Linked DNA regions of Homo sapiens: regions 1, 2, 3, 4, 5 and 6 are each linked to region 7. Evidence: promoter capture Hi-C in 16 types of primary human blood cells and fetal thymus (Javierre and others, 2016). All regions are on one chromosome and are shown on one strand. Each heading gives the region's core, a stretch centred on a gene start or on the middle of the fragment in contact. The rest is flanking DNA. Distances are from core to core; before and after follow the strand shown. Region 1 holds the start of LOC124901386 (a long non-coding RNA gene). Region 2 holds the start of RSPH4A (radial spoke head component 4A). Region 3 overlaps KPNA5 (karyopherin subunit alpha 5). Region 4 overlaps ZUP1 (zinc finger containing ubiquitin peptidase 1). Region 5 overlaps KPNA5 (karyopherin subunit alpha 5). Region 6 has its middle 6.1 kb from the start of KPNA5. Region 7 holds the start of TSPYL4 (TSPY like 4).

Region 1 (2,700 bases), core at 155-2,654, 380 kb after region 7:
CACTGGAAGATATAACCCACAGGAAATTCTTGGAAACATCAATACTTTTTAAAGAGTGTCAAGGGGTATGAAGACAAAAAATATTGATAGTCACTAGAGTAATGTATTCTTAACCTTTGTAAGAACTGATCTCAGCATGTATTCTTAAACCTTTGTAATTACCTATGGTGTGGACTGTGATATTGTGTGCAAACACTTTATAGCATATATATTCATTTTTCCTGCTTGAGATAGTATCATAATTCTGTCACCTGCTTAAAACTGTAGGAACACTCAATTTTTTTTTTTCTTTTTTTTTTTTTTTGAGACGGAGTCTCTGTCACCAGGCTAGAGTGCAGTAGTGTGATCTCGGCTCACTGCCACCTCTGCCTCCCGGGTTCAAGTGTTTCTCCTGCCTCAGCCTCCTGAGTAGCTGGGACTACAGGTGCACGCCACTACACCTGGCTTTTTTTGTATTTTTAGTAGAGACGGGGTTTCACTATGTTAGCCAGGCTGGTAAATTTTTAACTCTTTTGTTACTTCTCAAAAAGTCTTCTCAGACTCCTCTTTCATCCTACAGAAATTGATTTGAACTGATTAGGGAAAAATGATTTGCTTTGCACAGATATGGTTAGCTGGAGATAGCCAGAGACTTGACTTATATTTTCTAGCACTACTTCTCTAAAACATTATCTTCCCTCACTAAAAAAGCATTTTTAAGTCCTGTATGTACCAGATATACCTGTGGCTATGACTAAAAACTAGGCACTACTCTTGAAATCATAGAGCTTTCATTGAAGAGAGAACTATAAAAAGGTAAATAGAAATGTAAAATCAATCGCAATTTAGCAAGTATTGTGATACAAATATTACAGGTAACACAGAACAGTGCTTCTCAAATTCTACAGTAAAGGAATTTTGCTAAGTTAAAAAATAATTCCAATCCATTACTGTTGTTTTTTAAAAATAAAATGACACAGCAGTTCTCAATGTCTGTACTTACCTTGCCACAGACCTTCAGTTTGCAGATCACAGATCTGCACCCGGAGTAACACTGTTGTCAAACACAAGGTGCACTGAATTCAGATTTCAGCAAGTCAGGAAGCACTTCTAAGAGCCACCAGGTGGAGTGCTATGGGAGAAGGTTCTTGGTGGCATCAGCTGCATCCTGGCAAAGGACTTTTGGCTGAAAGGAATGAAATTTCAACCGCAAGAAGTGGTGAGAGATGAGCCTGCAGAGGCAAAGAGGGGCTAGAGTGTGTGGAAGTCTGGATTTTACCCATGAACAGTGAAGAGGATTACACTAGAAAGTCACACAAATATTTGTATTTGAGAACATTTTGGCTACAGTGTAGATGGATGAGAGAGAATCCAGATTTGAGACAAGGAGACCAGTTAGGAGGTTATCACATTATCTAGGTAACACAGTGGCTCACACCTGTAATCCCAGCACTTTGGGAGGCCAAGGCGGGTGGATCACCTGAGGTCAGGAGTTCGAGACTAGCCTGGCCAACGTGGCGAAACCTCGTCTCTACTAAAAATACAAACATTAGTCGAGTGTCATGGCGCATGCCTGTAATCCCAGCTACTCGTGAGGCTGATGCAGGAGGACTGCTTGAACCTGGGAGGTAGAGGCTGCAGTGAGCCAAGATTGCGCCATTGGCACTCCAGCCTGGGCAACAAAATGAGACTCCGTCTCAAAAACAAAAACAAATAAACAAAAAAACAAAAAACCCAGGATAACTGCAAGGGGATATAAAGTAGAAAACTGCACCTGGTGGCTGAGGTGGGAGGATCGCTTGAGCCCAGGAGGTCAAGTGAGCTATGATCGTGCCACTGCACTCCAGCCTGCGTGACAGAGCAAGACCATGTTTCAAAAAAAAAAAAAAAGAAAACTGGTTACCAGTCTGAAGGACAGAACATTAGGAAAGATGGTTTCCAGAATTAAATTGGCAATACTATTTCATTCTTGAAGTGCAACTTTCATTCTTTGTTGGCATACCTAAAATTCACAAAACTTCATTCATGTTGGTTGTTATTCATTTTTTCATGACATAGTAGACATGTTCTTTAGTGTTGCTTAATATCCATTTCATTACCTACCCTGATTTCCTTTTGAGGAACTGCCTCTGTCCCATTAAATAGTCTCATGCCAATCAGATGTAGCCTCTCTGGGATCTAAATTATGGGCTCCTAACCAGATTGTTCCTTCTACAAATTAGACCATATTCTAGTTTCCACAGTTGGCTTGGTTCCAGCTAAGTTCTACCCATGGACTGTGAGCTTCTGGTAGTTTTTTGATGAATTACATTGGCCAGGATTCTTGGTTGCAACCACATGTGGCATGTCCAACAAGAAGTGGAAAGTTTCTTTTCTACAGAACACATTAAACACAAGACTCTAAATCACAGTTGTATAGTTAGTATAAACACTTAATCAATGCAAATCCTTCTTTATAGAACTATGCCTGTTAAATATTATTTCTAAGCAGTGAGGAAGAAATTTTACTATATATGTTCTCTAACGGAAGACAGCCAAATAGTTTAATGGTAAGAGTTTGGTTGGAAGTGAGATAGCCTAGGTTCATACCCTGGATCAAGATTTTTCTTGGGCAAATTACTAACCTCTCAGGGCTTTAGCTTGCTTCTTCATGGGCCTAATAATAGTACTTGTCTCACAGAACTATTCTGAAGATTAAACTAAGTAATATATGTAACATAC
Region 2 (2,700 bases), core at 110-2,609, 360 kb after region 7:
TACCACACCTGGCCCTCTGGCTTGTCTTTCAAAGAAAAAAAAAGCCTCCATTACAGCTTGCCAGCTGCAAGGGAGAAATTAAGGGGGAAAAAATGCTAACTTCCTCAACTCTTGCACCAATTACCAAAAAACCCCAGAATTTATTGTTCTAGTTTATCTTAATGTTCTGTTTTTAGAAATCCAAGCATTCTAAATCCCAGACATTTGACTTTAAAGAGTCTCTGTACCAGCAGAAGTTATATTCAACATTTTGTGTGTGTGCACACAGTTTTTATCAAATTATTTTAGTCTGTGATTCCCTCACCACACTGAATGGAGGAGTATTATGTTCTTCCATGAAGTTAGAATTTAGAGCAACATCTTGCTAAATAGAAGCTATATCAATGTAAACTGTCAAATGCCAAGTATTTGTTGGTATATTTAGAAAGAGAAAGAAATACAAAACAATTAACATTAAAGACTTTAATTAATATATGGTTTATAGTTAAGTCCAGATATGGTCCAATCTTCTATACCTTCTTCATATTGGAGACTGTATACTATAAATGAATAGTCATAATCTTGAACTTAAATCATTGCAAAATTATGCATTTACATTTACATTATCAAATAAAAATTATATTATGCCAATATAGTTTAGTGTTAATTTGAATTTCAATTATTAGAAAACGGGTAACCCATGAATTGCCTATTTATAGGTTTTCTGCATTGCCTTCTCAAGTATAATATTCTGCCTAATCACCAGGAGATTCCTTATAAGCAGGAAGAACAAAACTCAGGACTGCTTTGTCTATTCTCCGAGTCTTTAGAGTTGGTTGGTTGTAGCTGATGCACGCTAAATGTGAGGCTTGGGGTCTCCTGGTCAGCACACTGGGGTCCCATTGTTACCTGCACCTCCGAGATTACCAAGGTCAGTCTCTTCCTCCCTCTCTACCCCTCACTCTCCTCTCTCCCTCCCTCCCTTCCTTCCTCCGTTCTTTCCTTCCTTCCTTCTCTCTCTCTCTCACACACACACACCCTCCACACACACGCTTCATGAATACACTGTCCCTCCACTAACGCACGACTCGCTCCTCACAGCACAACTTGGATCAGTCTCAGACCCCTAAAGGTCTCTCGCATGGGGTCGCCATTCTTCCTACTTTGTGCTCAAGGCGCAGGATCTGGAGTTCTCGGTTTCCAAGCAAGACTGGTCGAGTCTAGGTCGGATTGGCTGCGATAGAACGAGGGGCAGGGGTTGTACCGAATCACAAAGCTAGGATTTTCATCTCTCTCTCTCGTTCTCTCTTAGTCTCCGCCCTCGAATCCTGGCAACAGGCGCGGTGAGTTTTTCTGAGAGGAACCCGGCCTGGGGTTGCTATGGAGATAGGACGCAGCAACTCACAGAGCAACCAGGACCCAGAAATCGCTTAAGAGACCGCGGCAAAGTAACTTAACTGAGTTGCCTTCTTCCATATTTTCACGCCCCTTTCATCCAGAACATTTTTTTTCTTGAACTGCTTCCATGGAGGACTCAACCTCCCCGAAGCAAGAAAAAGAAAACCAAGAAGAACTAGGGGAAACAAGGCGGCCATGGGAAGGAAAGACAGCAGCTTCTCCCCAATATTCTGAGCCTGAGTCGTCTGAGCCCTTGGAGGCGAAGCAGGGGCCAGAAACTGGACGCCAGTCCCGAAGCAGCCGTCCTTGGAGCCCGCAGTCTAGAGCCAAGACGCCTCTGGGTGGCCCCGCGGGACCAGAAACATCATCACCTGCTCCTGTCTCTCCGCGGGAGCCCTCTTCCTCTCCTTCTCCCCTGGCTCCGGCCAGACAAGACCTCGCGGCACCACCTCAGTCGGACAGGACCACGAGTGTGATTCCTGAAGCTGGGACACCTTATCCTGATCCTTTGGAACAATCATCTGATAAAAGAGAATCAACTCCTCATCACACAAGCCAGTCAGAAGGAAACACCTTTCAACAGTCTCAGCAACCCAAACCCCACCTGTGTGGACGAAGGGACGTGAGCTATAACAACGCTAAACAGAAAGAGCTGAGATTTGACGTTTTTCAGGAGGAAGACTCAAACAGTGACTATGATTTACAGCAGCCGGCGCCTGGGGGCTCTGAAGTGGCCCCCAGCATGCTTGAGATCACCATTCAGAATGCTAAGGCTTACCTGCTGAAGACTAGCAGCAATTCGGGCTTTAATCTGTAAGTCTCAGAGGGAAAAAAGATAAATGTTTGGCAAAGCAAGAGGGTGTGTGAGTATCTCTGTGTGAGAGTGTGTTTCTGTGGGTGAATCAAAATATATTTGAAAGATTGTGTTAGTAAAAGAGAGTTAATGACATAACTCTGGATCACATGACTCAAAACAGGTCATTAATGGAGATTCTTGTACCTTCTTTTTCTTAACCTTTTTTTTTTTTTGTCCTTTTCCTCCAGCTTCTTTAAAGACCCTAGGCACACAACAAAATAAAACTTAGGAATTATGGAATCTCGGGCTTGAAAAAGACCATAAAGACCATAAAGTCCAAGCATCTCTCCAGGATGCTTGTGAAAAATAATTGTCTACCAGTGAAAGCAATCACGTCTCTCATCTGTAGATGCTATTGCTTGCATGGCTTTTGAGTTCCCAACCCAGGCAGTGCTAGGGTGACCACCATCTCAGTTTGGCTGAGCGCTGAAAGTTCTTTATCCTAAGAAACCCCTTAGTCCTCGCAA
Region 3 (2,700 bases), core at 165-2,664, 470 kb after region 7:
TTTTACTTTGGGAGGAATTTCTCCTTTCTTAATTTCACTTTCTAGAATGGGTTTTGTACATCTAAATAATTCATTAGTAGATTTTCATATAGGTTATTTACTATAAAACTTTTTGTTTCCATTTCTAACTTGTTTTAGGTAATTTTGAATTGTTCTGCATTACCCTGTCTCTTACATTTATTGAGTAGCCCAAAGGAGTCAATTAGAAAAGAAGCCTGCTGGACTGTTTCTAACATCACTGCTGGAAATAGAGCTCAGATTCAGGTAACTACCCTTCAGATCTGAGAGTAGAACAGCAAGGTCTAAGAAGCCAGTTTGGACAAAAGTTAACACTTTTACTAAAAAAGATTCCTTTTTAAAAAGATACCGAAAAAGTATTTTAAAGAACATGGGCTTTCCTCCTCTAAAATAATAACATTTACTTGTAGTATTCTAGTGAAGAACATCAAGTGTGTGTGTGTGTGTGTGTGTCTAGCACAGTGCCTGACACATAATGGTTTGTCTTTAGAAAGATATTTTTTTGCATTAGTTTTAAATAAGTTATGCAATAATCTTCCTCTCAAAGCTTTTAATGATTTATTAGGGTTCTATCAAGCTTCTTGTGTCAGTGATTACTTATCCATTTTGATCAGTCACATGGCTTGTGCTTTATCATCTCTAAAATTTATATTTTGCTATTCTCCAGTCTTTAAAAAGCTAATTTCCTATGTAAAAAGAAAAATATTTGAAAAGTTTGCTGACAGAATAGAAATTAAAAATTTATTTTAATGTCAAGGTTCCAAAAACCTTGACATTTTGAAGCCATTGAGTTTCAAGATTTTTTTTACTGGTAATATTTTAGAAACAGTATTTGTACTGATTATATATTTTTCCCCCTCTCAGGCTGTTATAGATGCAAATATTTTTCCTGTTTTGATTGAGATTCTTCAGAAAGCAGAGTTTCGTACCAGAAAAGAAGCAGCTTGGGCTATAACTAATGCAACATCAGGAGGTACTCCAGAGCAAATAAGGTATGATATAAACTTCTTAATTGTTTTTTACATGTAAATGAGACAAAAGTTGAAATAAAACATATTTTAATTTACTGATGGAACTAAAATATTATTTCTAAGTCAGTTTGATAATATGAAATGACAGCATGTATTATATCAGTTACTCATTCACAATTTTTTTTTCCCCATTTAACGTGTAATTAACATCATTCTCCTTGATAGGCTGCTTAAGAAAAATCAGAGATTAAAAAATCCAAACGGGAACGGTCTATGTTAATTTGCAGAGTACACTGTCATGGGCATTAAATATTTTTTAATCACAAAAATATAGCTTTATTATATAGAAATGGCTAATAAATTTGAATATCCACTTACTTTAAATAAAATTGAAATAGACATTGTTTATATGGTGATGTTCTGGTCCTCATTGATTGTTAGCCTTGCCTATGGATAGTATCTTTTATTTTTCTATACTAGTTACCTTTTTTTTATATTAGCTTTTTGAGTCTAGGCTTTTTAAATTTATTTATTCTGCTGACAATGTAAATAATAGGTGCATGGGCTTTTAAGTCAGCCTGATTTCAAATCCTGCTCCTTCAGTAAAAGTTGTGTGGTCTTGACAAAGTCATTTAACCCCTCTAATCTAGTTTCTTCATTTTAAAAAATGAGTTCCAGTAATGAATAGTTATGGCAGTGTAAGTCAGCCTTCCATATCCTTGGGTTTTGCATCTGTGGATTCAACCACCTGCAGGTCAAAAATATTAAAAAAGAAAAAGACAGTAAAAAATGCCAGTACAACACTACAAAATAATGCAAATTTAAAAACACAATACAACAATTAGTAACATCATAGCAATTACATTGTTTTAGGTATTATAAGTAATCTAAAGATAATTTCAAATACTTGGAAAGATATGCATAGGTTGTATGCAAATACTATGCCATTTTATATAAAGGAATTGAGCATCTGTGGATTTTGGTATTGAGAGGAAGGGTGTCTTGGAACCAATCTCCGATGAAACCGAGGGACTGTATCTTGATAGTTAAGTGAAATTTATGTCTTTGAAGTGTCAGCACAGTGCCTAAACATATTATTAATAACTAATAGATAATTAAGAATAGCTACTGTTATTATTTGTAATCATCATAATTTTTATTATCAGTATTGATTCCTGAATCTTTTATCATGTACTTTCACTCTTTTTTATCTCCCATAGCAAAGTTTCACTTACACCTCTACTAAAAGCTTCTACAGAATCGTCTTGTTCGGAGGATCCCTCCATGAAACTAGACTTCTTAGAAAATATTTTCTAATGCATATTTGATTTATTTTTCAATTTATAAAACAAGTCAAACTACAGTGCTATTTTATAAATCACATAATTTTGAAATCTACCTATTGTGAAATTGTCGTCTTTTATTGCCTTCATTTGTAGTATTATCTTGCTCTCTCAAATTTGTATAGCTGTATATTGCTAGCATCTGTCTCTGCCTTTTATTTTCTATTCTATCTCTTTGCTTTCATCAGTATTTCCACTTTGTGTCATGGATACAAGCAGTAATAAATGAAGACCCTTCCTTTGTTCTATTTTGTATTTTTTTAATGTTGATGTTACTTTTATTTTATTTGGGCTGCAAGTTTGTTCACCTGCAAATAGTTGTATTTTTTCAATTAATTTTTGTGGTTATATCTATTCTGTATATTATT
Region 4 (2,700 bases), core at 40-2,539, 400 kb after region 7:
CTTGCTTTGGCAAAGTCACTGTAACTTCTCTAAGCAACAGTGACCTCATTTGGAATATATAACAGTACAGGAGAGGATGTTTTGAGTTAAATGATACAATGTATATAGAGTTGTTAGTGTCTAAAAATGTACAAACAATAAAATAGCCAATAGCCATTTGTGGCTATCGAGAATTTGAAATGTGGCTGCCCAATTGAGTTGTGCTGTGAAGTAGAAAATACACAATGGATTTTGAAGAATGTATAAACAATGTAAAATGTCTCAGTAATAGTTTTAATGTTGATTACATGTTGAAATAATAATATCATGGATACACTGGTTTAAACTATTTAAATTAACTTCCCCTGTTCCTTTTCACTTTTTTTTGTTTTTTTTTTGTTTTTTTTGAGATGGAGTTTCGCTCTTGTTGCCCAGGCTGGAGTGCAATGGCGCAATCTCGGCTCACCGCAACCTCCGCCTCCCGGGTTCAAGCGATTCTCCTGCCTCAGCCTCCCTAGTAGCTGGGATTACAGGCATGTGCCACCACGCCCAGCTAATTTTGTAATTTTTTTTTAGTAGAGATGGGATTTCTCCATGTTGGTTAGGCTAGTCTCGAACTCCCGACCTCAGGTGATCCGCCTGTCTCAGCCTCCCAAAGTGCTGGGATTACAGGCATGAGCCACCGCGCCCAGCCTCCTTTTCACTTTTGTTAATGTGGAGCCAGGAAATTTAAAATTATATATGTGGCTCACATTATATTTCTCTTAGCACTCTCTAGAGCATAGCTTTTTAAATGTCAAGTAACATAATATAAAAGTAAATTTTTAAGTGAATTATTTATCATAAAAATAATTCAGAAGTTTTAAAACAATACATTTTTAAAAAAATATTTGTGCACAGATTATGAAAATTAAGCAAAATTAAAATGATTCTGATTATTACTTCAGTGGTATAAGCAATATTAAAACAATGACTCTGATGTTTAAATACTCACCGGAAGTTTTTGTTTTTCCATCGTCAAAACCAAGAGCTAATGATTCCATCATATCAGCTTTTCTCCTATGAAATTCAGATGGAGGCATTCTTCCCCTATTTACTTCTATCTCCATATTTCGTAGTTGTTGTTGTTTGTATCCTCCAGAATTATCTAAACCATATTGTCTCTATTGAACATAAAAATAAATGACTTAATTTTTACATCCCTGTAACTCTATGAGGATGGAAACTTATTAAAATTTTATTTGGAAACATGTTGAAACATTCTGGTTTATAGACTTTATACAAGTTAACTTAAAGATTTTTACAAAAACTAATAACACACACACACACACACACAAAAAAAAATTATTGACTTAATAAGCAACCACTTCTTTATAATCAATCTCCAGGGCAAGAGACTTGCTTTTCCTGTAGTAGGGAAAGCAGAGGATCCTGTCTTTCTACCTCAGGTATTGGGAGATGCAGAAGAGTTCTGAATGCATTGCTGATTTTTTCAAGGAAACTTGTCAGTCCTTGTTATTTGGTTCCCAGTCTAGTCCATAAAGGCCTACTTAATCCATAATTCATTTAGTCAGTCATGTTACACAGTAAATGAACTATGTTTTGTACACTGGACAGAAATCTCAAATAGTATGTATAAAACTATGGAAAAATTGTCTATGGAAAAGTTTTCACGGAAACTTTTCTACAGAAAAATTTTCTGAGATCTAAACAACTAACTTGCAAAATTACATAACCTCCTTAAATATTGGAAACTTTTTGTATTGATCATGTTTTAAATTACATAAGGCATAAAAGTCTTAAGAAAAGCCAATTTTCTTTCCTATTTTGCAAGTATTGTGAGTCACCAGTGAGAAAAAAATCCTACATTAGGTCTTCCAAAGCACATTCTAAGCAACAATACTCATGTGAGATGTCTGAGAAAAAAAGAGAGGTCAAACAAGTCTGGGGAAATTGTGATATGTACATGCACATTAGTATATTAAAGGCTTTGAGAAGTCCCAAAGTATACAAACCTGTTTAACTGAACACTTTCAAACCTATTCAACTGTAAACCCTTTTTATGTATGCACTATCCTATCATCACTAAAAAAAGAACATTTAAAAACTATAAGCAATAGGCCAGGCACGGTGGCTCATGCCTATAATCCCAGCACTTTGGGAGGCCAAGGCAGGTGGATCACCTGAGTTTAGGAGTTCAAGACCAGTTTGGCCAACACGGTGAAACCCTGTCTCTACTAATAATACAAAAAAATGAGCCAGGCATGGTGGTGCACACCTGTAATCCCAGCTACTTGGGAGGCTGAGGCAGGAGAATCACTTGACCCTAGAAGGCGGAGGTTGCAGTGAACCAAGATTGCACCATTGCATTCCAGCCTGGGCGACAAGAGTGAAACTCCGTCTCAAACAAACAAACAAACAACAACAACAAAATCTATGAATCTATGAGCATTATTAGCACAGATAACACTACAGTCTACAAATTAGGACTGAAAAAAGGAAAAACAGACATTAAAATTTTAAATGCATTAAAAATATAACAGATGCTACCAGTTTAGTCCAACAGGTAAAACCACCCACCTAAGATAAATGAAGCCTCAAATATCATTTAAAAAAAGCATTTTCCCATAAAATAGTTGTAAATGTTTGAAATTGCAATCTGTAAAATAATTTAAGACTCAGGAGACATTAATTCTAAGTATAAATTTCGCTTCCAAGCAT
Region 5 (2,700 bases), core at 168-2,667, 440 kb after region 7:
ACCCCCATTCTAGGAAAATTGCATTGGTACAATTTTTTTAAGCCTTTATATGTCTAAATACTATATTTCTGATATCTTTGAGCAAGTTGTCTGGGTATCGAATTCTTTGATCAGAAGACTTTGTCCTCATTTACTCTAATTCCTCAAGGTATTCTGTTTCCGTTAAACTGTACTATCTTTCACAGAGACAATTGTGTTCTCTGTTTCTTCTTTGTAATGGAATTATGCTTGCCCAGTTGGACATACAGCAAGGAGTTAATAGATGTTTTCTTTCACTGATTGATGTGAGTTCCTGCCACATCTATCAGGCCTAGAAAAATAATAGATTTACTGTATTTTTATTTGATCTGTCAAAGTAGGAAATATGGGAAAGCAAGCATCTAGAGGCCAGAACTGGAAGCAGAAACAACAGGAAACTTTGCCTCTTTTGCAGGCATTTCTTTATTGTAATTAGTGTTCTTACTGTAGACACTAGGAAGATATGAATATGCCCTGGGTACTGCACAGCCTATCTTAGCTCCAGCTTTTACTCCTCTGACTTAAGTCTGCGACGGTGACCTTTTGTTACATCTTCTATTTATTTCCTTTTCGTGGCCACTCTTGTGGATGTAAATCACAAACCATCCTTTTCTTCAATCCCAGTTTTGTAGAAAGTTCTCCAAAGCTTTTTTCTTTTGCCTGACTCTTGCTTAGTTTTCAGTGCTGAAGGAGATATTCCCCCTATACTACTTATTGCCATAATGACTAAAAGTCTTCTCGGTAGCAGTTTATCACCATTATAAGATTATGTAGACTATCATCCTGTCAATATAATACTAATAGTAGTTCATGATACCTGTTAGATAAGCTGACAATCCAAGTGCACTTTAATTGCTTTCTTTTAGATGAAGATAAATATAAATGTGTTGCTTTTAATTCACCGGGAAGAAACTATATTTGGGTTCTTATGTGTGTGTGTGGGGGGGTATATATCATATCATATCTATATTTAATATATATAGCTGACATTCTCAATGACCACCTCGCCCTACCTACCAACCACAAAACCCTATATTTTCTTCCTTCTCTCTCATCTCTTTCATAAAGAGCAAGACAAAATTTCTGTACATTAAATTTAAAACAAAATAGGATAATATATTTATGATTTGCTTTGGAAATAAAGGAAAAACAAGAAAGTGCAGGTGATAATTGCAACCCTATAATTTTGTTTTGATTTTTTTAAGATGGAAGGTAAAATGATTAAGAATACTTACTGTTTTATCCTGTTGATGTTTTATAACAGTATAAGTTAGGGTCTGGAATTCAGTTTTCCATCTTGAAGAATTGGGGCTTTTCATTTAGAACACCCAAACAAAACTTGATGGGTATAACTTTACTAACTGCAGAAATTTTCTAAATTTTGTCCAAGTTAGAAGAATAGCAAATTTGTAGAAAAATGAAAAGGAAGAAGGAAGTCTGTTTCTAAGTAAATCTTTCTTAACAATTGAGAACAAGGTTTCTAGGATTTGAGCTGACTTAAAACTTAATGAAAACATTTTTCTATATCAAAAAGAATGATTTGTACAGGTGTTTTATGTCCACCATTTGCTTATTCATCCTACTCATCAAACACAGTATGTTAACATTAATATATGAGTTCTTTATGATCAGTAACACAGTCAAATAGAGGAAGTAAGAAGAAAAGGAAGAATCAGAAGTGGAAATGAGTATGCTCTTTTTCATGACTACATGAATAGATAACATAGTAATATACAATTTAGGTGGTGGATGCAGGGCAAGGGAAGGAATAACCATGATGATATAATGAGTTTGATTTTGGGTATGCTGCATTTTGAAAGAAGTGTGAAAATACATTTTAAAAGGTGTTAAAATAAAAATGCATCTTATAGTCACTTAGGAATATGGTCTGAAATCTAGGAAAGGAGAATTCGGTTAAGGTTGTAAGGTCTGTGAATTATCACAAATAGTAATAATATCTGGTACTTGCATTAACAAAAATAGGTACATTTTCTAAGATGAGAATAAACAGGAATAAGACTATCCCAAAAGAACACCAATAGGGAAGTTACTGAAGAACCGTAGAGGGTACGTTTTGCTGAAGCCAAGGTAGAGGAAAGAGTTCTTTATACTTAGATGACCAGTACCTGAAATGTCTTTGTCTGGATTTTATATAAGCTTCCTAGATATTTTATGATTCTCAAAAGCTGTCTGCATTTCATGAAAATTTATCAGTAATTGTAGACAGTCCGTTAACATTTCTGTAAAAAATAATTCACGGACAAAAAAGAATCTTGTTTGACAGACATTAGGTAAATTGTGGTTGATAATGAAGGAGATATGCTTAGAAATTGAGGGTAGTACTATAAAGAATTAGTGGAAACTTAATTCCTCAGTTGGTATTTTGAGTTTTAGACAGAAATAATCAATGTTTTAAAGGTGTGCTCAATAGCCTTCAATTTATGAAATTTAAATGTTTATGTAGGAAATATTTTTAAAATTTCTTGCAGTGAATGAGAAAGCGGAATTTGCAAAATGTACAAAAAACATTGTAATCTGGAGAAAATTTGACTTCAATTACATCTAGCTAAGGGTTTTAATCTTGGGTCAGGGAAACCTAGGAAAGAGTTATTTTATGTGCCCTGTTAATGGACACAGGGACTAGATTGTTTTCTTTTTGTGTCTTTGTAATAACTGAAGTCT
Region 6 (2,700 bases), core at 172-2,671, 420 kb after region 7:
CTACATCCAACTAATAAGAGATACAGAGAGGAATAACAACAAAAACAATGGAAAATTAGTTATCAATGAAATGACATGATAATTCATGACTTAATAATAATTTCTCCTGAAACATTATTTCTTATTATTTCCCAGGAAGCTCCCACCAAAATGAGGGAAGAAGCAAAGAAAGTGGAAGGTATGGGGCCGGGCATGGTGGCTCACACCTGTAATCCTAGCACTTTGGGAGGCCGAGGCAGGCGGATTGCTTGAGCTTAGGAGTTTGAGACCAGCCTGGGCAATATGGTGAAACCCCGTCACTACCAAAAATACAAAAAATTATCCGGACGTGGTGACGTGTGCCTGTGGTCCTAGTTACTGAGGAGGCTGAGGTTGGAGGATCATTTGAGCCCAGAAGGCAGAGGTTGCAGTGATCCGAGATCACACCACTGCACTCTAGCCTGGGTGACAGATTGAGACCCCATCTCAAAAAAAAAAAAAAAAAAAAAAGAAAAGAAAAGAAAAGAAAAGAAAAAAAGAAAGTAGAACGTATGGAATTCCATAAAAAACTCTACCAAGATGAGAGAGAACAGACAGGAATGAAGGCAGAAAGGAAGAAAAAGAAAGGGAGGGAGGGAGGAAAGAGGCAACTGACAGATCACTTCATGTTTATGACCATACTGAGAGAAATATATTCTGTTAAGCAGAATAGTGTCCCTCAAAGATGTTTATGTCCTGGCCAGGCATGGTGGCTCACACGTGTAATCCCAGCACTTTGAAAGGCCAAGGTGGGAGGATTGTTTAAGGCTAGGAGTTGGTGACTAGCCTGGCCAACATAGTGAGACCCGCCCCCCCCGTCTCTAATATTAAATTTTTTTAAAAGATTCTATTTCCTTATTAACAGAACCTGTGAATATCTTACTTTTCATGGCAAAAGGAATTTGTAGATGTGATTAAGGATCTTGACAAGAGGGGTTTATCTAGGTAGGCACAATGTAATCACAAGGGTCCTCATGAGAGGGAGACAGATAGGAAGGTCAGTCTTAGAAAAGGAGATGCGATAACAGAAACAGAGGTCAGAGAGATGTAATTGCTGAAAGGGGTCCAGAAGCCAAGGAATGTAGGTAGCTTCAAGGAACTGGAAAAGGCAAGGAAATGGATTCTCCCCTATAGGCTCCAGAAGAAACACAACTTTGCTGACACCTTGATTTTAGCCCAGTGAGACCCATTTTGGACTTCTGACCTCTAAAAGTGTAAGATAATACATTTATGTTATTTTAAGTCAGCAAGTTTGTGGTAATTGGTTAGAGCAGCAACAGGAAACTAATACAGATCTCCAGCAGTGTGTTTGAAGATGAGTTAGTGATGAGTAGTTAGAAAATTAAGCAAATGATAATGACAGAAAACAGGCAATTAATTTTAGAACAATAAAAAACTATACAAGGAATGTAATTTTTACATAAAAATTTAAATATTGATTTAACCAAAATAATTTTGATAGAACTATATTGGAGGATGTGCGATCAGGAAGTATGTGTAAATGTGTATGTTGGGAGGTTAGTGCAGTTATGAGTAATAAATTCTCATTTTACATCTATAACAATAGAAAATGTCTATGACTTTACAAATTAAGAAATAGCAGTGTATGATTTTAAAATATTTAATTAGAAAAGAGATACCAATAAGAATACCTAAACAAGTTGAAAATAGTAGCTTCTGGGGAGCGGCATCTGGGGATGGTCAGGTGGGAAGTGTTAATTTTCACGATAAACTTATTATTGGACCCTTTAAATGATATATTTGTATTATTTGATTACAATAAATAAAAATTTAATTGTAAATTACTACACCTTCTGGACAGGGAATAGATTATAAAGGAGTCAAGGTAGATACAGATTGCTTAATTAGGATACTACTGCAGTTTATGAAATAAATGATGGAATGCTAGAAGAAGTGTCAGTAGAGATGGACTAGGTGTAGATGTGGACTATTTTGGAGCTAGAAGCGAAAGACAGGAGGCACTGGTAAGGGCAAGGTAAAGAATGATTCATAAGTTTTTTAACTGGAGTTTCTGGCTGCGTAGTTGTATCATTACAGAGATAAAGAGGCCTGAGAAAGAAATAAAGTGGAATGGGATAGAATAAAAAAATCTGTTTTGGCTTATTAAATTTGAGATGCCCATCAGACATCCAAATGGAGGTTTGATATATGAGTTTAGACCTCCAGGAAGAGGTCAGGGATGGAAATTTGAATTTGGGAGAAAGTGGTTTATAGGTAGATGGCTTTTAAAAATACAGGAGTATGTTGTATCACCTAGAGAGGCAATGCAGCAAAGTAAGAGGCCTGGCGCCAACATTTATAGGTTGCTTAAAGGAGGAAGACTAAATAAGGAGGATGAGAAAGAAGAGGCATGAAGCTGAAAGAAGGCCATTCATTTCTTTATCTTTGGAAAACTGAAAAAGTATGTGTGGTAGAACCTTTGGTACACTGCCCAAGTTCTGGTTCAGGACTAAAGGATTTTCTTCCCCCAATGATGAGGGCTCTAGGCCAAGTTCCACTTCAGAAACTGCACTCTGGTCAAAGGGAGCTGCTGCCTCACCCAAGATTAACCCTCCTCTCTGGATTTGATTCAGTGATATCCAAAGACTTCTTGATTCAGTGATAGAAACATGAGCCTCTAGCCTCAACAGTGACAATTCTGAAGGGCCATCCCAGCTTCTG
Region 7 (2,700 bases), core at 145-2,644:
GAAGACTGCATGCTGTTGGCCAAGCATAGGTCCAAGAGGAGGTGGTAAGGAAACTTGTGCAGAAGCTTCTCACAGGACAGAGATTAGCCAGACTGGAACCTGAAGGATCTGGCGCTCTCCACTGGCTGCCTTGGTGGGCCTCGAATTCCTCTACGGGGCCCTTCACCCATCAGGTAGTATTGTAGGGGATTGGGCCACAGTTCTCCTTTGATAATCTCTGCAATTCTGTCGAATTCTAGAAGGCTGTGGTCTGAAAACCAGTTGAAGAAACTAGGGATAGTGTTCCCTTCCCGGTTTCTGTGGATATGAGCCTGGGGGTCTTGGCCTCGGTGCCAGCGGATTGGAGTGGAAAGAGACACCACCCGGCCAGAGGATCTGCGTTCATATTCCTTGACAAGCCCCTCATTTCGGAAGTAGGGGTTGCCCTGAAAGATGAACTTGAATTTGCAGCCTGCTCTGGGGTGTTTAAGCTCCTCCACCTCCAAATTGATCATGTACCTCAGCATGTCTTCATCTTGGCCACTGATCATAGGTGACAGCTGGGGGTGGTTTCGAAAGGCAGTAACCCAGAAACCTGGGATATTCTGGATAATGAAACTTCTGCGCTGCATGTGGAGCCTTCGCATGCGGCCAAACTTGCGCTCAAGCTGAAGGAAGGCCCTGTCAGCCTGGGCATTTACGTTTGACAACTCTTGATCGATGGCCTCCAGTGAGTCCATGCAGTTATTGATCTTCGGGGCCCTGGGCCGTGTCTCCTCTTTCACCCCTCCTGCCACCTTTTTTTCCTTCTGCACTACCTTCTTTTCCTCCATCGCCGCCCCTGCTTCTCCCTCCTTTTCCACTGCTGCCGAGATGGCGCGTTTTTTAGTCGTCACTTCCTTGGCCTTCTTCCCCGGTATCATCTGAGACCCCAAGCCCCCTGCGCCACAGGCTTCTAGAGCCTTCTGCCCAGCAGGGCCACGGGGCTCTCCAAGCTGACAGCCATTTTTCTGGCTGCTGTCAGCAGCCTCGGCGGCAGAGGCTGCTTCCAGACCTTTCGTAGAAGGTGGAGCATCCTCCTGCCCGGCTTTGGTCGCTGCACCGCCGCGACTCCCGGCAACTGGGACGCGGAGCGCGGGGCCACAGTCGACAGGATCCTGGGATGCACCCCCCTCCGCAACGGTCTCCAGGCTGCCCCCACCTGTGTTCGCCATCACCTGTGTCGCCTCGGTTTCTTCACGGAGCCCTTGGCACTGGTCTCGGTCCGGATCTCCTGAGGCATGGTCGGGAGCAGCCAGGCCGCCGGTTTGGGCGAGAGGGAGCTTGTTGCCCCCATCCAGGCCGCTCATTTTGGAAGAAGTCAGACTAGTGGGAGAGGGAGAGTTCCTTGTCCTCCGCAGCGGCCGAGCTCTGCCCGAAACGTCTAGCACCACCCCTCCTTTACTCTCGGCGGTGCTACCATGGCAACTGGTGATGTCAGGGCGGTAGCGTCGTAACATCGCGCGAGAACTCTCTGCGCGGTTGACTACGCTTATCAATCCATCGTATTCCTTTGTCTTCTTGTCACAAAAAGAATTTCGTCAGTCTGGAAGGGGAGTTTTACTTACGTAAATGGATGTAGACCAGACTCAAGCATGTAAGAACTGTGTTAATGTGGATTTCTAAGCCTCTGAATGAATTTCTAAGGCACCTAACCTATTGTTTCTGAAAATATTTACTTTAAGGTGAGTTACTGTCTATTCAAGTCAGTTCATAGGGCTTCTCCTGAGTAGGAAAGTGGATTCACGAACTCACAGGCCTTCCTTCTTTTAAGGTGTGGATTCATGGCTATTACCAAAGAATTTAAATGAGCAGAGTTTGATTTTAAAGAGAAGTGTTGCTGTGTTGTTATTTTTAAAATTAAGGAGCAGCTGAAAGGCAAACTTCTCTCATCCTAACAAGACATAATAAAGGAATATTTCAATTTGTCTTACAGATTTTAAAGTTTATATAATTTGGCCAACATCTACAAAACAAGTGGACAATATTTCCTCTTCACTTTTAACAAAGAGTAGCAAAATGTTTTTCCTTACGTAGAGGTGACTGGCACACGAGCACAAATTTAGGCTTTTAAGCATTACTGAAAGAAATATCTCAGGGGATTTTAATTTCTAAACTGATGCATATGTTCTTTTCCTCAGGTTACAATCTTAATCTAAAAGTGGTTCCTGCTTCATAATGCCTGTGGACATGAAGCTAACAAATCTTTTCAAAATGTGTTCATGTGGTAATTCACTGCAGCACAGGAGCAATAATCAGCTATGTGCAGGCATCTATGCTACTGTCTCTTAAAATACTTTAAAAGTAAGGTTAGTTATTGTCTATTCGAGTCAGTTAGCTCTTACAATTCATTTGATAGTGATTATCAGTACAATATATTAGTTTGTTGGAGTGTGAGAATAATGGTGTTAATCCTTAGAAAAATGCAAGACCAAAGGGAAATTTAAATTTTGCATATTTATGTTTAATGTCAAATTTATATTCAAATAAACGGTTATGATTATAACTCTTTGTAAAAGAAACTCCATTTTAAGCCCCCCAGATTATGATCACTTTCAAATACAGGCTCAGAAGTACAGATTTAGAGAAAAAGGATTCCTCTTAGAGGAATACATCATATATACTGAGACTTCTAGCGAGGGAAGGAGTGTAGTTCTGGTTCAACTAAGATAAAGTACTGAT

The links. The method cuts DNA at HindIII sites, captures the fragments that hold promoters and counts their contacts. A CHiCAGO score of 5 or more calls a contact.
Region 1: a contact is called between a fragment that was not itself captured here and the fragment with the promoter of TSPYL4 in region 7, in 5 of 17 cell types (total B cells, fetal thymus, M2 macrophages and 2 more). The highest score is 7.3, in total B cells.
Region 2: the fragment with the promoter of RSPH4A here is called in contact with the fragment with the promoter of TSPYL4 in region 7 in 4 of 17 cell types (fetal thymus, naive B cells, monocytes and 1 more); the score reaches 9.4 in fetal thymus.
Region 3: a fragment that was not itself captured here is called in contact with the fragment with the promoter of TSPYL4 in region 7 in 1 of 17 cell types (M2 macrophages); the score reaches 5.1 in M2 macrophages.
Region 4: a contact is called between a fragment that was not itself captured here and the fragment with the promoter of TSPYL4 in region 7, in 10 of 17 cell types (naive B cells, M0 macrophages, fetal thymus and 7 more). The highest score is 14.4, in naive B cells.
Region 5: a fragment that was not itself captured here is called in contact with the fragment with the promoter of TSPYL4 in region 7 in 6 of 17 cell types (monocytes, M1 macrophages, naive CD8 T cells and 3 more); the score reaches 7.5 in monocytes.
Region 6: a fragment that was not itself captured here is called in contact with the fragment with the promoter of TSPYL4 in region 7 in 9 of 17 cell types (naive B cells, fetal thymus, total CD4 T cells and 6 more); the score reaches 12.9 in naive B cells.

The regions. Positions count from the first base shown.
Region 1 is chr6:116,632,823-116,635,522 of GRCh38, forward strand. It overlaps RSPH4A (radial spoke head component 4A), which reads left to right. Exons shown (of 6, transcript NM_001010892.3): 6 at 1-163. LOC124901386 (a long non-coding RNA gene) reads right to left here and starts at 1,441. Exons shown (of 2, transcript XR_007059721.1): 1 at 983-1,441. The HindIII fragment of the contact is 3,276 bases long and covers 1-2,700 here.
Region 2 is chr6:116,615,120-116,617,819 of GRCh38, forward strand. RSPH4A (radial spoke head component 4A) reads left to right here and starts at 1,360. Exons shown (of 6, transcript NM_001010892.3): 1 at 1,360-2,190. The coding sequence starts at 1,505. RefSeq lists enhancers at 1,410-1,509, 1,560-1,679. The HindIII fragment of the contact is 5,584 bases long and covers 1-2,700 here.
Region 3 is chr6:116,725,613-116,728,312 of GRCh38, forward strand. It overlaps KPNA5 (karyopherin subunit alpha 5), which reads left to right. Exons shown (of 14, transcript NM_001366306.2): 11 at 139-264; 12 at 883-1,010. Among named protein-coding and RNA genes, the nearest start is that of FAM162B, 39 kb to the right of the region's middle. The HindIII fragment of the contact is 1,643 bases long and covers 594-2,236 here.
Region 4 is chr6:116,655,711-116,658,410 of GRCh38, forward strand. ZUP1 (zinc finger containing ubiquitin peptidase 1) reads right to left here. Exons shown (of 10, transcript NM_145062.3): 5 at 974-1,142. Among named protein-coding and RNA genes, the nearest start is that of ZUP1, 12 kb to the right of the region's middle. The HindIII fragment of the contact is 2,964 bases long and covers 1-2,700 here.
Region 5 is chr6:116,695,990-116,698,689 of GRCh38, forward strand. The region is part of intron 4 of KPNA5 (karyopherin subunit alpha 5); the gene reads left to right. Among named protein-coding and RNA genes, the nearest start is that of KPNA5, 16 kb to the left of the region's middle. The HindIII fragment of the contact is 1,511 bases long and covers 663-2,173 here.
Region 6 is chr6:116,673,713-116,676,412 of GRCh38, forward strand. No RefSeq gene overlaps it. Among named protein-coding and RNA genes, the nearest start is that of KPNA5, 6.1 kb to the right of the region's middle. The HindIII fragment of the contact is 7,093 bases long and covers 1-2,700 here.
Region 7 is chr6:116,252,681-116,255,380 of GRCh38, forward strand. TSPYL4 (TSPY like 4) reads right to left here and starts at 1,395. Exons shown (of 1, transcript NM_021648.5): 1 at 1-1,395. The coding sequence starts at 1,328. The coding sequence ends at 84. It also overlaps a transcript of DSE not described here. RefSeq lists enhancers at 967-1,126, 1,537-1,766. The HindIII fragment of the contact is 9,221 bases long and covers 64-2,700 here.